Regions from separate parts of the Homo sapiens genome. Here all the other regions are linked to region 1. Evidence: promoter capture Hi-C in 16 types of primary human blood cells and fetal thymus (Javierre and others, 2016). All regions are on one chromosome and are shown on one strand. The core of a region is centred on a gene start or on the middle of the fragment in contact, and the rest is flanking DNA. Distances in the headings are between cores, read along the strand shown. Region 1 holds the start of CCNE1 (cyclin E1). Region 2 has its middle 4.2 kb from the start of PDCD5. Region 3 overlaps DPY19L3 (dpy-19 like C-mannosyltransferase 3). Region 4 holds the start of LINC00662 (long intergenic non-protein coding RNA 662).

Evidence for each region. The method cuts DNA at HindIII sites, captures the fragments that hold promoters and counts their contacts. A CHiCAGO score of 5 or more calls a contact.
Region 2: a fragment that was not itself captured here is called in contact with the fragment with the promoter of CCNE1 in region 1 in 1 of 17 cell types (total B cells); the score reaches 5.5 in total B cells.
Region 3: a fragment that was not itself captured here is called in contact with the fragment with the promoter of CCNE1 in region 1 in 2 of 17 cell types (activated CD4 T cells and non-activated CD4 T cells); the score reaches 5.8 in activated CD4 T cells.
Region 4: a fragment that was not itself captured here is called in contact with the fragment with the promoter of CCNE1 in region 1 in 2 of 17 cell types (naive CD8 T cells and total CD8 T cells); the score reaches 5.7 in naive CD8 T cells.

What each region holds. Positions count from the first base shown.
Region 1 is chr19:29,810,560-29,813,774 of GRCh38, forward strand. CCNE1 (cyclin E1) reads left to right here and starts at 1,432. Exons shown (of 12, transcript NM_001238.4): 1 at 1,432-1,593; 2 at 1,973-2,019; 3 at 2,130-2,217; 4 at 2,410-2,478. The coding sequence starts at 1,997. RefSeq lists a silencer at 886-1,515. The HindIII fragment of the contact is 7,130 bases long and covers 1-2,669 here.
Region 2 is chr19:32,575,354-32,578,568 of GRCh38, forward strand. No RefSeq gene overlaps it. Among named protein-coding and RNA genes, the nearest start is that of PDCD5, 4.2 kb to the right of the region's middle. The HindIII fragment of the contact is 1,080 bases long and covers 912-1,991 here.
Region 3 is chr19:32,409,024-32,412,238 of GRCh38, forward strand. It overlaps DPY19L3 (dpy-19 like C-mannosyltransferase 3), which reads left to right. Exons shown (of 19, transcript NM_001172774.2): 3 at 2,216-2,349. Among named protein-coding and RNA genes, the nearest start is that of DPY19L3, 4.9 kb to the left of the region's middle. The HindIII fragment of the contact is 772 bases long and covers 1,330-2,101 here.
Region 4 is chr19:27,792,248-27,795,462 of GRCh38, forward strand. LINC00662 (long intergenic non-protein coding RNA 662) reads right to left here and starts at 1,693. Exons shown (of 3, transcript NR_027301.1): 1 at 1,285-1,693; 2 at 753-985. LINC02987 (long intergenic non-protein coding RNA 2987) reads left to right here and starts at 1,184. Exons shown (of 7, transcript NR_146733.1): 1 at 1,184-1,362. RefSeq lists enhancers at 1,426-1,905, 3,072-3,215. The HindIII fragment of the contact is 5,184 bases long and covers 1-3,215 here.

The DNA of each region.
Region 1 (3,215 bases), core at 182-2,681:
AAGGGCTTGGCCAGTGCCTGTCTTTCAAATGTTCATTCAGAAACAATTTAAGTGTCTCCCTTGGTCCAGGCACTATGCCAAGAACTGACAGATACAGCAGTGAGCAAGATGGGCAAGGTGGGGAGAGAGACAAGAAACAGAGAGGCACCAAGACTGTGTAGGGGCTGGGCTCCCAGCACTTTGGGAGGCCAAGGCGGGAGGATCGCTTGAGCTCATGGGTTTGAGACCAGCCTGAGCAACATAGCAAGACCCTATCCCTACCTGCCACCCCCCACCCCCCGCCACAATAAAAAATACAAGTCTTGAGGGAGAAAGGACAGAGGAGCTGTGGAGAGGAGGCCTGAGGTCTGAGGGTGGGGGATCAGGGTCAGGTCCTGTGGAGCCTGTAGCCTAGGACACGGAGTGTGGATTTGACCCTTATGCGAAACAACTGGAAGGCTTTTTGTTTCTTTTTCTGTAGAAATGGGGGTCTCACTGTTACCCAGGCTGGTCTCGAACACCCCAAGGGATCAGCCGTCTCGGCCTCCCACAATGCTGGGATTAAAGGCGTGAGCCACCGCGCCCGGCCTCAACTGGAAGGCTTTAAGTGAGAGATGGGGTGCAAGGGAATCCCAGAGTCAGAAAGGTCTTCAGAGAGCCAGGAAGGGCTTGCGGGGGAGGGGCGCATATGGAAGGGGCGCATGGAAGGAACTCACAGATTCCTTGAATGAATGAATGAACGACCCAATGCACTGACGGATGAATGGACAGGCGGCCAGGAATAGCAGCCGGCCCCCAGGGAGCCCCAGACCCCGCGGCCTGAAGCCTTGGTTCTAGGCCAAGGCACAGGCGCGGTGACCTTGGGGATGTCCCCGCCCAGGACTCAGGGCCCGGAACTCGGCGTCTCGGGGGCGGGGAGGGCGTGCCTGGCGGGACAGCGCGCGCGGAGGAACGGCGGGCGGTGCTCCTCGGGTAGGCCCCCCACACATCCCCTTGGCTCAGCCCTGCCGGGGCCCGAACCCGCGCCGCCCGCCGTGTTTACATTCCACCCGCGCCAGCCACGCGGCTTTTTGCCGCTCCAGCGCCGCTCGGCCCCGCCCCCGGCGCCCGCGGCCCGCCCCTCGCCGCCGCGCGCCAGACTTCTCCCGCGTCCCGCCCGCCGCCCCGCCCCGCGTCCCGCGCCCCGCGCCCCGCGCCCGGCCCTCGGCGCGCAGGCCCTGTCACTTGGCCCCGCCCTGTCCGCCGGCCCCGCCCCTGATTCCCCGTCCCTGCGCCTCGCGGGCCGGCGCCGTGGAGGGGCGGGTCCGGGGGCGGGGCGAGGGACGGGGCGGGACGGGCTCTGGGTCCCGCGCGGCCGCTGAGGGGCTGGGAGCCGCGGCGGGGCGGTGCGAGGGCGGGCCGGGGCCGGTTCCGCGCGCAGGGATTTTAAATGTCCCGCTCTGAGCCGGGCGCAGGAGCAGCCGGCGCGGCCGCCAGCGCGGTGTAGGGGGCAGGCGCGGATCCCGCCACCGCCGCGCGCTCGGCCCGCCGACTCCCGGCGCCGCCGCCGCCACTGCCGTCGCCGCCGCCGCCTGCCGGGACTGGAGCGCGCCGTCCGCCGCGGACAAGACCCTGGTGAGTCTACTGCCGCGGGCTGCGGACAGGGACTCCTGGGGCCCAGACCGCGCCGGGGAGCTGGGTGGGGGCGGGGTGCGGCCGGGTCGCGGGTCCCCGGGCGGCGTCGCGGGGCGCCCGGGAGGGTGCTGAGAGCGCGGCGGGGTGGGGTGGAGGGGACACTGAGGCAGCCCGGGCCCCGGGAGGCGACGGGCCGGTGAGGGCGGCGGGGGCGGCGGGACCCCGGGTCGGGGGTCGGCGGGTGCCCGGGTCGCGGGTGACAGGCCACCCCGCCATCGGCCATCTTCCTGGCTCGCCCGGCCGCCCGCGCGCAAAGGGGGAAGGGGTACTGGGCCCGCGGCCTGACCCCGCCGCCGCCTCACCCCGCGCCGCCCCGCAGGCCTCAGGCCGGAGCAGCCCCATCATGCCGAGGGAGCGCAGGGAGCGGTGAGTGCCCGCGCCGCGGGGCCGGACGGGACGGGACGGGACGGGACGGGTGGCGTGGGGGAGGGGCGGCCGCGGGTGCTCACCCGGCCCGGTGCCACCCGGGTCCACAGGGATGCGAAGGAGCGGGACACCATGAAGGAGGACGGCGGCGCGGAGTTCTCGGCTCGCTCCAGGAAGAGGAAGGCAAACGTGACCGTTGTGAGTACAAAAGAGACAGGTTGGGGAGCATCCCCCCCATCTCACCTGGGTACCCGACTTGGCTCTGCCTACGGGGGCGGGGGTCCCTTGGGCAGGAACGGAGCTCATAACCTGATCAGCTTTCTCTTCTTCTCTCTGTTTTTGTCTTGTTTGGTGTGTTTCCTTGGGGTCATGGGGGTGGCTTCATGTTAGTTTTTGCAGGATCCAGATGAAGAAATGGCCAAAATCGACAGGACGGCGAGGGACCAGTGTGGGAGCCAGGTAGGTCCGCCCGGGGTTGGGCCTCTGTGGAGGTCCTTCTCCCCCTGGGTCACATGGGGTTTCATGCTGTCTTGTCTCTTGCTGGAGACACTCTGGTGAGAGTGAACTTCTCTAATGCAGCCACAGCCCATATGGCCCAGCACTGTACCTGTCAGTGGGCACTGGCCTCTGCCAGTCCTGGGATTCCAGGAAGCTTGGTGTTCCTGACTGGCACCGTCTGAGATTACAGATATGTGCCTAGCCTGGAAGAACCAGAATGGACATCACAGTATTCAGTCCTCCCCTTCTGCCCAGGAGGAAACTGAGACTCAGTTAGAGGAAGAAAGTAACCCAGAGTCCTGTGCCATCCAGGGGCAAAGTTGGGCTCTCGGCCTTGTCTGTAAAAGCTGGTGAACTGGGGGAGGGTTCCTGGGTGTTTATAAGCAACAACTTTCCCCCTATCTACACCTATTTTTCTTGTCATGGTGTTTAAGGACCTCCTCCGTCTTCTGTAGGTCAGATTTCAAATTCTTCTCCTCTTTCTGGCCCTGGAAGTTCTTATAGCCCCTCCAGCAATTACCTGCATTGATCCCCAGCTCAGCCTGACCTCAGCAAGAGTATCAGTGGAACATTCAGTGTAATGATAGGTGGTGTCTCAATACATTTTTTTTTGACTGCTTTTCTTTTCTCTCCTTAAGGAGTTCCTGCCAAATTTCCTGCATGCAGTGTGATAATCATTATAATATCAGAAGTTTCTT
Region 2 (3,215 bases), core at 202-2,701, 2.8 Mb after region 1:
CGCCCAAAAAAATGAACAGGCTAATCAAGGACCACCAACTATCTAATGACAGCCTATGGCATGTGGGAGAGACTATAATAACCATGTTTTCTTATTTTAAAATTTTAGATACAGGGGTCCACGTGCAGGTTTGTTACACAGGTGTATTGCATGATGCTGAGGTTTGGGCTTCTATTGATCCTGTTACCTATATAATGAACATAGTACCCAACAGAGAGTTCTTCAACTATTCCCCTCCTCCCTCCGTCTCACTGTCAGAGTCCGCAGTGTCTGTTGTTTCCATCTTTATGTCCACGTGCACCCGAGATTTAGCTCCCACTTATAAGTGAGAACATGCAATTTTTGGTTTTCTGTTCTGTGTTAATTTGCCTAGGATAAAGGCCTCCAGCTGCATCCATGTTGCTGCAAAGAACATAATTTCTTTCTTTTTTATGACTGCATAGTATTCCATGGTATCTATGCACCATGCATTTTCTAGTTTCTGTTTTTGATGCTCTGACATCTTGGGGCCTTGCTGACCCTGGAGGGATGGTCCCTCCCAGGGCTAGCCACATCCTAAAGATAGTAAGTGACTCTCCTGTGAGCACAGCTTTCAGATGCACACCAGCCAATCCAGAAGTCATTCCCCAACCACCTCCGTTTCAGGGCCCTCACAGGGCTGTTACACTCAGGGCAACTATTTCTCTGCCCTAGTCACCCCAGGGCCCAGTACCAGACTATTAGAAGCAGAGCCCACAAAAATTACTCAAACTAGCCAATCCTGAGCCTGCGTATCTGCCTCACCTGTTCCTTCTCACAGAACTCACAAAAAAGGCTCTCGTCCACTTTTACCCTCTTCCCTCTGCCTCGTGACTGCCCCTGGCCCCTGTGTGGTGTGCCCTGCCTCCTGTTTCTGGCGGTCTGTGAATCTAAGCTTTTTCCTTCATGACCGTCAATTCCGTGCCTGTATGTCTTCGCATATCTAATTTAAACAAATCCTGGGTACCCTTACAACAGAGGCCAAGAAAAATAATCAGGTATAAAAACAACCTGAAAAGAAAGAGGACTAACTCAGGAAATGAAAGAGGATGTTTAATTGGTTTCCAATTATTATTATAACAATATTTAAGAAGTTATTACACTCAAAAATCAAGAACAAGATAGTACGCAAACAGCATGATAATGCTGCATAAACAGAGTAAGGAGAATAAGTAAATAAATAAATTTTTAAACGGTGCAATAAGGGAACAAGAAAGTGTTCTTATAAAATAAAAATATAATGGCTTAAATAAATTCAAGAGAAAGGTCAGATGATAAAACAGAAGAAGCCTTCCATAAAGTAGGACAAAAAGACCGAGATGGAAGACATGAAAGAAAAGGGATATGAAAGATTTATCCAGGAGGCCCAGTTTACAGTTGTCCCAGATAGAGAAAGATAGAAATCAAAGAGGAAAAAAGTATCAAATGGACAACAAAACAAAATTGCCCAAAAGTTAAAGGTAGAAGTTTCCAGATCAAAAGAATCTACCAAGCAAACAGGACAAGGGCTTTTAAAAGGCCCAAACCTTTGCAAAATTTCAGAATCCTGGGAGGAAAAGGAAAGATTCTAAAACTTTTCTTTCTCTTCTTTTTCTTTCTCTTTCTTTCCTTCCCTCCTTCCTTCTTCCTTTCCCATTCCCCTTCCCCTTCCCCTTTTCTTCCCCTCCCTCCCTCTGTCTCTCTCTCTCTCTCTCACTCTCTCTCTCTCTCTCTCTCTCTTTCTCTCTTTCGGGGCTCACTCTCACCCAGGAAAATTCCTAGGCTCAAGCAATTCCCACCTCAGCTTCCCAAGTGGCTGGGACTACAGGTATGCACCACCATGCCCTAATTTTTAAGTTGTTGTAGAGAGAGGGTTCTCACTAGGCTCATCATGTTGCCCAGGCTGGTCTCTAACTCCCAGCCTCAAGCGATCCTCCCACCTCAGCCTCCCAAAGTCCTGGGATTACAGCTGTGAGTCATCACACTTGACCAAAAGCTTTCAGAAAGAGAAAAAAAAAAAACACCACTCACGAAGGAATAGGAATCAGATTTTTGTATCACGAACACCAAATGCTAGAAGACAGATGAGATGTACCTTTATACTCCAAAGGGAGTGGACACTAAACACAACTGGATCACGAACTGACAAGAAAACAAACAGTGGTGGTGAAGGTTATTTGAATAACTGGAGAGACAAATGTGGGCTACATCAAGTAGATGATACTATTTTATCTATATTAATGTATTGGGTACAATAATTATATTATATATGAGTATATCTTTGTTCTTAGGATATACACTTAGGAGTGAACTGACATATTTGAAACCTTCAAATGGTTCAAAAAAACTGTGTGTGTGTGTGTGCATATGCACACACGTATGTATGTGTGTGTAGACATATAAAGTCAATGTGGCAAACTTAATGATTAATGAATGTATGGGAAAGATATATACACGTTCTTTGTACTATTCCTCCAATTTTTATAGATTTGATGGTTTTCACAATGTAAAGTAAGGAATTTTACAAATTACTAATATATAACAAAGTTAGAAGGGTAAATTAAAAATAACATTTTGTATTATATTTTAATTTAAAGTAATTCTGAGGGGAAAATATTTTATCCAAAAGTCTATAACCAACCATGAATTAGTCAAGTGTTATGGTCAATTAAATATTTAGACATATGACAATATAGAAAATTTGTCTATCACAGACTTTTTAAAGACAATTACTTAAAAATGTGTTTCAACAAACTTAAGGGTTAAACCAAGAAAGAGCATAAGGAATCCAAGAAATAGAGGATGAAACTCAAGATGGCAAGGAAGGAAAATCTAGGATAAGAGGTATGCAACAGTCCCCACCATTCAGTGGGGAAAGGACAGTCTTTTCAACAAATGGTGCTGGGAAAACTGGATAGCCACATGCAAAAACATGAAGTGGGACCCTTACCTAATGCCATATTAACTCAAAATGGACCACAGACCTGAACATAATGAGCTAAAACTATAGAACTTCTAGAAGGAAACAGGAGAATAGCTTCATAACGTTAGATTTGGCAGTTATTTCTTGGGTATGACACCAAAAGCAAAGGCAACAAAAGAAAAAATAGGTAAGTTGGACTTTATGAAAATTAAAATATTTTGTGCATTGAAGGACACAATCAACAGAATGTAAATCCCATGGAATGGGAGAAAATAGTTGCAAATCATATACTTTG
Region 3 (3,215 bases), core at 466-2,965, 2.6 Mb after region 1:
GCCATGTTAATTCTTACCAGCCAGGCTAGTAAAGCAATTCAGGGAAACAGTTTAACAAAAGTAATCTGTAATGGGAGGTCATGACACCTGGCTCAGCCATTAGCGAGTGATTAACACGTTTTGGATAATAGTACTTTCTGAACACCTTAAACAATGCAAAGAAAAAGAAATATACTCCCATCCTGAAACTAACACCAGTGGCACTGTCTTGCTGTCTTAATGTCATATTCTGCACATGTATACCCATAAGCATTCGTATACAGTTTTGCAAAATTGGGATCCACGTGCTGTTTTGTAGCTTGCTATTTTTCTCTTATTATGTTATGAACATGTCATAAGCCAGTTAACGTATTTTTGAAATATCATCTATGTAAAGTATTTTTATAGCTGCCACTGTAGAAGTGAAAGGTTTTCTTACCATTTGCTAATACAGACAGAACTGTGATCAATTTCCTTGTGGCCATATGTTTGTTTAAAACTTTATTTCCTTGGGGCATGTCTTAGTCCATTTCTGTTGCTATAAAGGAATACTTGAGGCTAGGTGATTTATAAAGAAAAGAGGTTTCTTTGCCTCAGGGTTCTGCAGACTGTATGAGAAGCATGGCACCAGCATCTGCCTCTAGTGAGACCTCAGGAAGCTTCCAGTCGTGGCAGAAGACTTAGGGGAGCCAGTGTGTAGAGATCACATGACCAGAGTAGAAGCAATTTCCAGGGAACACAGGATGTCAGGCTCTTTTTTAACCAACCAGCTCCCCTAGGACTAACAGAATGAAAACTCAGTACTGCTAGAATCTCACCAACCTGTTTATAAGGGCTCTGGTTCCATCACCACACCACCTCCCATTAGGCCCCACCTCCAACATTGGGAATCACATTTCATCATGAGATTTGGAGGGGCCGAATAGTCAAACCACAGCAGGGTACATGCCTAGATTGGGAATTACTGGCCAAATGGGATGCTCATTTTGGTGGCTTTTACTCACTGCTGCCATGTTGCATTCCAGAGAGGCACCAATTTATTCTTCTAGCAGCAATGTTTGAAGATGTCTATTTTTTATACCCTTACCAAAACAGTATTAGCATTTTGAAAGCTGTCAAATTGGCCAAGATTTAAGTATAACTCACAGTTTTGATTTGCATTTCTTTAACATTAATGAATTTAAACATCTTCAGTCTGTTATTATTATTGGCCACTTTTTTCTATTGTACATTGCCTGTTCATGTCCTTAATCTTTTTCCTACTGCAGTATTCATCTTGACAGGACAATAAATTGTCCTGAAATAAAATAAATTGTCCTGAAAGTATTCATCTTATGTTAAGGGTATTTAAGCTTTCTTATATGTGCTATCCATATTTTGCCTAGTTTATATGTCCTTTAACTTGAGTTATGTTGGATTATTTATTCTGTGGGTTTTTCCCCCCAGAGCATTCCTGCAAAACCTGTGGGTTTAAAAAAAAAGTTTTAGGTAATCGGCCAGGTGCAGTGGCTCATGCCCGTAATCCCAGCACTTTAGGATCCCAGCTTGGGTGGGTGAATCACTTGAGGTCAGGAGTTCAAGACCAGCCTGGCCAACATGGTGAAACCCTGTATCTACTAAAAATACAAAAATTAGCCAGGCATGGTGGCATGTGCCTGTAGTCCCAGCTACTCAGGAGGCTGAGGTGGGAGAATTGCTTGAACCTAGGAGGCAGAGGTTGCAGTGAACCGAGATTGCACTACTGCATTCCATCTTGGGCAACAGAACAAGATCCTGTCTCAAAAAACAATAATTATTTTTTAGGTAATCAAGTTTTTAAAATAGCTTTTAAAGAATAAGCCACCAATTGTACCTAGATTATCTAAAAGATCGATTACGTCCTAGACACGTAACACATTTAGTCATCCATTTAACAGACTTCATAGTTAAATTACGGTTGTTAAACTGTGCCGGACAGAGGCCCTCAGTATTAAACATGAATAAGATAATGTATTTGTCTTCAAGAAGCTCACGTTGTAGTTGGCAGAATGGACACATGGACAGTTAGATACGGGGTAACAGTTGTAATAGAATGAAAACAGGTCTGTGGAATCAGAAAGGACCCTCCGCTGGAGACAGGAAAAGCTTTCCCAGTGACAGGCAGCTAGACTTAGCTTACTTGATAATCTGAAGTAGAACTATTACATTCTGATTTTTTTACTGACTTAGTTATTTATCTGTTCCATTTTTCCAAAAGGTTGTACCAGTAGAAGATTATGGAAGATTTTGTCATTGACAATTGGTGGAACCATTGCCCTTTGCATTGGACTTCTTACATCTGTCTACCTTGCCACGTTACATGAAAATGATTTATGGTTTTCTAATATTAAGGTATGGAGTTTCTTTGACCATTGTATCATTCACTCAGTGGGATCTCCAGTAGTAAGCCATGTGGATGAATGACCAAGGCAACACAGTTTTGCCATAAAGAATCCAATCTCTAGAAAGGTTGGACTATAGAGTGAAATAACTTTTGTGTTTATTATTTTAAAATAACATATTAGAATCTTTTTTTAAATTTTTCTTTATTATTTATTTATTTTTGAGATGGAGTCTCACTCTGTCACCCAGGCTGGAGTGCGGTGGCGCAATCTTGGCTCACTACAACCTCTGCCTCGCAGGTTCAGGTGATTCTTCTGGCTTAGCCTCCCAAGTAGCTGGGACTATAGGTGCGTGCCACCACACCCAGCTAATTTTTGTATTTTTACTAGAGACGGGGTTTCAGCATATTGACCAGGCTGATCTCGAACTCCTGACCTTGTGATCTGCCTGTCTCAGCCTCCCAAAGTGCTGGGATTACAGGCGTGAGCCACTGCGTCCAGCCAGAATCTTTATTTTTCATTTTAATTTTTTGAGATAGGGTATTGCTCTGTCACCCAGGCTAGAATGCAGTGGTGCAAACATGGGTCACTGCAGCCTCAACCTCCTGGGCTCAAGTGAGTATCCTGCCTAAGCTTCCTGTGTCACTGGGACCCCAGGCATGCACCACCTCACCAAGCTAAATTTGATTTTTTTGTAGAGACAGGGTCTCACTTTGTTGCCCATGCTGGTCTCGAACTCCTGGGCTCAAGCGATCCTACTGCCCTGGTCTTCCAAAATATGAGAATGAGCCATAGCACCCAGCCCAGAATTTTTATAATCAAGTGAGTTTTTTCTTTTTCATTAACTTATTCCATTTATTTAGCAGTTATTCTAAA
Region 4 (3,215 bases), core at 371-2,870, 2.0 Mb before region 1:
TTAGTCTCTATAACTAATATTTATAATTTCTATTACACAATATTAAAATTCATAAAATGTGTGAAGAAATGTAACATGCAAACTATACACAAGATAAAAAGCAGGCAGCAGAAGCTATTTCTAAGATGTCCGAGATGATGTAATCAGCAGACAAGTATTTCAGGGCAGCTATTATAAGTACGTTCATGGGGGTAAAGGAAAATATTCTCATAATGAATTAACTCATGTAGAGTCTCAGCAGAGACATGGAAATTATAAAAAGAGTAAAATAGAAGACAATAAAATAATAAAATAAAAAGAACTTTTAGTTTACAGAGTAGAAACAGAAGACAGCAATATAAACCATCCAATCTGAAGACTGAAACAAGTTTAAAGAAAATGAAAAGAGGCCTAAGAGACCTGTGAAATGATTGAGTCTGAGACAGAGAGGGAGAGACAGAAAAATTAAATATAATACAAAAACAAATAAACAATAGCTGAAAATTTAAAAACTTGGTCAAAACCGCAAATTCTTATATTCAAAAGGTGAACACACTCCAAAACAAAAACAAAAACAAATAAAACCATATCGAGGCCCTACTGTGATTTAGAAAACTGGCAGAGCAAGATTTTCCAGGGAGTTGCTATGATTTCTCATTTTCACTATTTATAATAATGGAAAATATGCACTCCTTAGTTTTCTTCTTGGAGAAAGTCTGACTTGTCAAACACAGATGACTTTTCAGTTTAGTTTTCAAGGTTTAATTTCTTACCTTGGAAATCAATTAAATTTGTTTCTTTAAAATGTCGCAGTAAAATTGCTCCTCCAGACAGATGTCCACGGAGATTCTGTCCTGCTGCGTCCGCCTTTCACAGAACTGAGGTTGTTCCTACACCAGTTTCAGAAGCGTGTAGGCACGCTTTATTACAGTGGCAGCAGCGTCCCTGTGCGAGGTCTAACCCAGGTGTGGGCCCTGCAGCCAGCCCGGGGGTCCAATGGGTCCTCCTATGGAGCACAGGAAGAATCGTGGCAGGCCAGAGATAGACAAAAGGTGGCTTTTAAAAGGGAAGTGTCAGGTTACCAGGGACTGGGTACTTTTACACGCGGACCTTCGGCCCTGCCCATAGAAAGGGGCAGCACTGCGCATCTCTGAAGGAGTGTGGCAAAGGGTGGGGCAATAAGAAGGGTGGGGCAGAAAGGAGTGGCCCCTCAGGAGGAAGGGGCGGGGAGATCCCAGCTACTAGAGGACGCCCGTTCCAATGGCAACTCTGCCAAGGCGCCTATGAGAGCCTCTTGGCTTTTACCTGGTCTGCGAGAAATCAAACTTTGGGCACAAGTCATGAAGCCGACAAGCCCGGGAGACACAGTGTCAGAATTACAAGGTGAGATCAGCCGCCCGGCCAAGCTATCTTCTCGCTAGCAGGTGAGGCCCGTGAACAGCCAAGCTCCCCTTGGCACGGCGGAACCGCAGTGGACGCGTGGAGGGGCTCCGTAGAGGAGGGACCTTTGCTTGGGATGCGGGGAGCTGTAGTCTCTTATCTGCACCCAGCTTGTTAGTTGTACGCCTGCAGGACTACAATCTCAGCACAAAGCAGGATTGTAGGGCGGTGCGGATCCCTGGAGGGAGACAGCGCGGTGCGCTCCTGCCGGCCATGCTGGCTGGGGTGGTGTCTTAGGCGGTTCCAGCCGTTAGTCACAGGGCGGCCGGACTACAATCCCAGCATACAACGGGAGTGGAGGTGGTGACCTTGAGAGAGGGCCTGTGCTGTGCGCGCCTCGCGGGGCATGCTGGGAGCAGTAGCATCTTAGCTGCTTCCGGCCGCTGGTCGCAGGGCTGCGGGACTACAATCTTCGCATGAAATGGAAGAGAGGGTGGTGCGGATAGCTTGAGGAAGGTACGGATACCTTGAGGGAGGTATGGATACGTTGAGGGAGGTACGGATACGTTGAGGGAGGTTACGGATACGTTAAGGGAGGTACAGCAGCGGTGCGCGCCTTGCAGGGCATGCTGAGAGGAACAGTTTTTTAACTGCTTCTGGCTGTTGGTGGCAGAGCTGCGGGACTACAATCCCAGTATGCTACGGGAGTGGGGATGATGCTGGTCCCTTGAGGGGGGGGGGCAGCGCGGTGCCCTCCTGCCGGGCATGCTGGTAATAGTGTCTTAGCTGCTTCCGGCCGTTGGTCGCAGGGCTATGGGACTACAGTCTCAGCATGCGCAGGGTTCAAGGGTGTTGCGCAGCCCCGCAGGGAGGGGCAGGGCGGTGTTGACCTCTGTTTCCAAACCCATGCTGGCTACTGAATCTGTGCCACCCCTGGCTAAGGGGAGTGAGTCCATAGAGGGACTTGAAGGGCAGGTCTGGGCTGGGCAGTGAGGAGAGTATGATACTGCAAAGTGCGCCTCGCCTTTGCCAAAATCGGTCGGGTCTCAGGCTCACCCCACCTCCCGCTGCTCAGTTCCGTTTCCCTCCAGAGCATCAAGCCTCCTCCCGCCCAGGGGGCCTCCTGCTTTCCTAAGCTGCTGTGGAATCGGCCTGAGGTCCCAGACGCTGTCCATTGTGCTGCTGCTCTCTGCTTTCTCCAGCCAGAGTGCCAGTTCATCCGCTTTTGGGAGAACTCCGCCGCCTGGCCTGCCCGCGGAAAAGGTCACAGCTTTGCAGGGGGTGACATGGGCTATGGCTTCCTGGAAATGTCACCCTCACTAGCGCCTTTTAGATAGATGTGAATTTTGAGACATGAGGGAGAGTAATTATTGGTTTACCCAGGAGATGCTAAGAGCAGAGGAGAAAACCCTAATTTCCAGGCATGTGTCCTGAGCCAGGGACAGGCTGGCCAGACCCTAAGCCCCCAGTGCCGCCAGAGAGCAGCCTACTGCCCTGATTTGTGTGGAATCCCCTTCGTGCTGCTGGGCCTTAGCGTCAGGGACAGCCCAGTCAGGTGAAGGTGGGGATGACCCATGGGCTTCTGGAAGTGGGTTGGTGGTCCTGGGAGGGCCAGCCCATCCCCCCTTGGAGAGGGTCTTTGTGCTGAAGGATGCCCACAGAGGCCTGGGTACCAGGAACACTGCTCTAGGCAAGGTGCCTTTCTTCCAGATTTGGCTGAAAGGAAGGAAGACTTGGTCAGCTTTTCCACCCAGCCATCTGGCCCTTACAGGGCTGCTCCCCATGGACCTGGGTTTGTAGAGTCCTCCAGGGCTTTGTGTGGCCCACTAGTTCTGATACTGAGGACACCCCTGCAG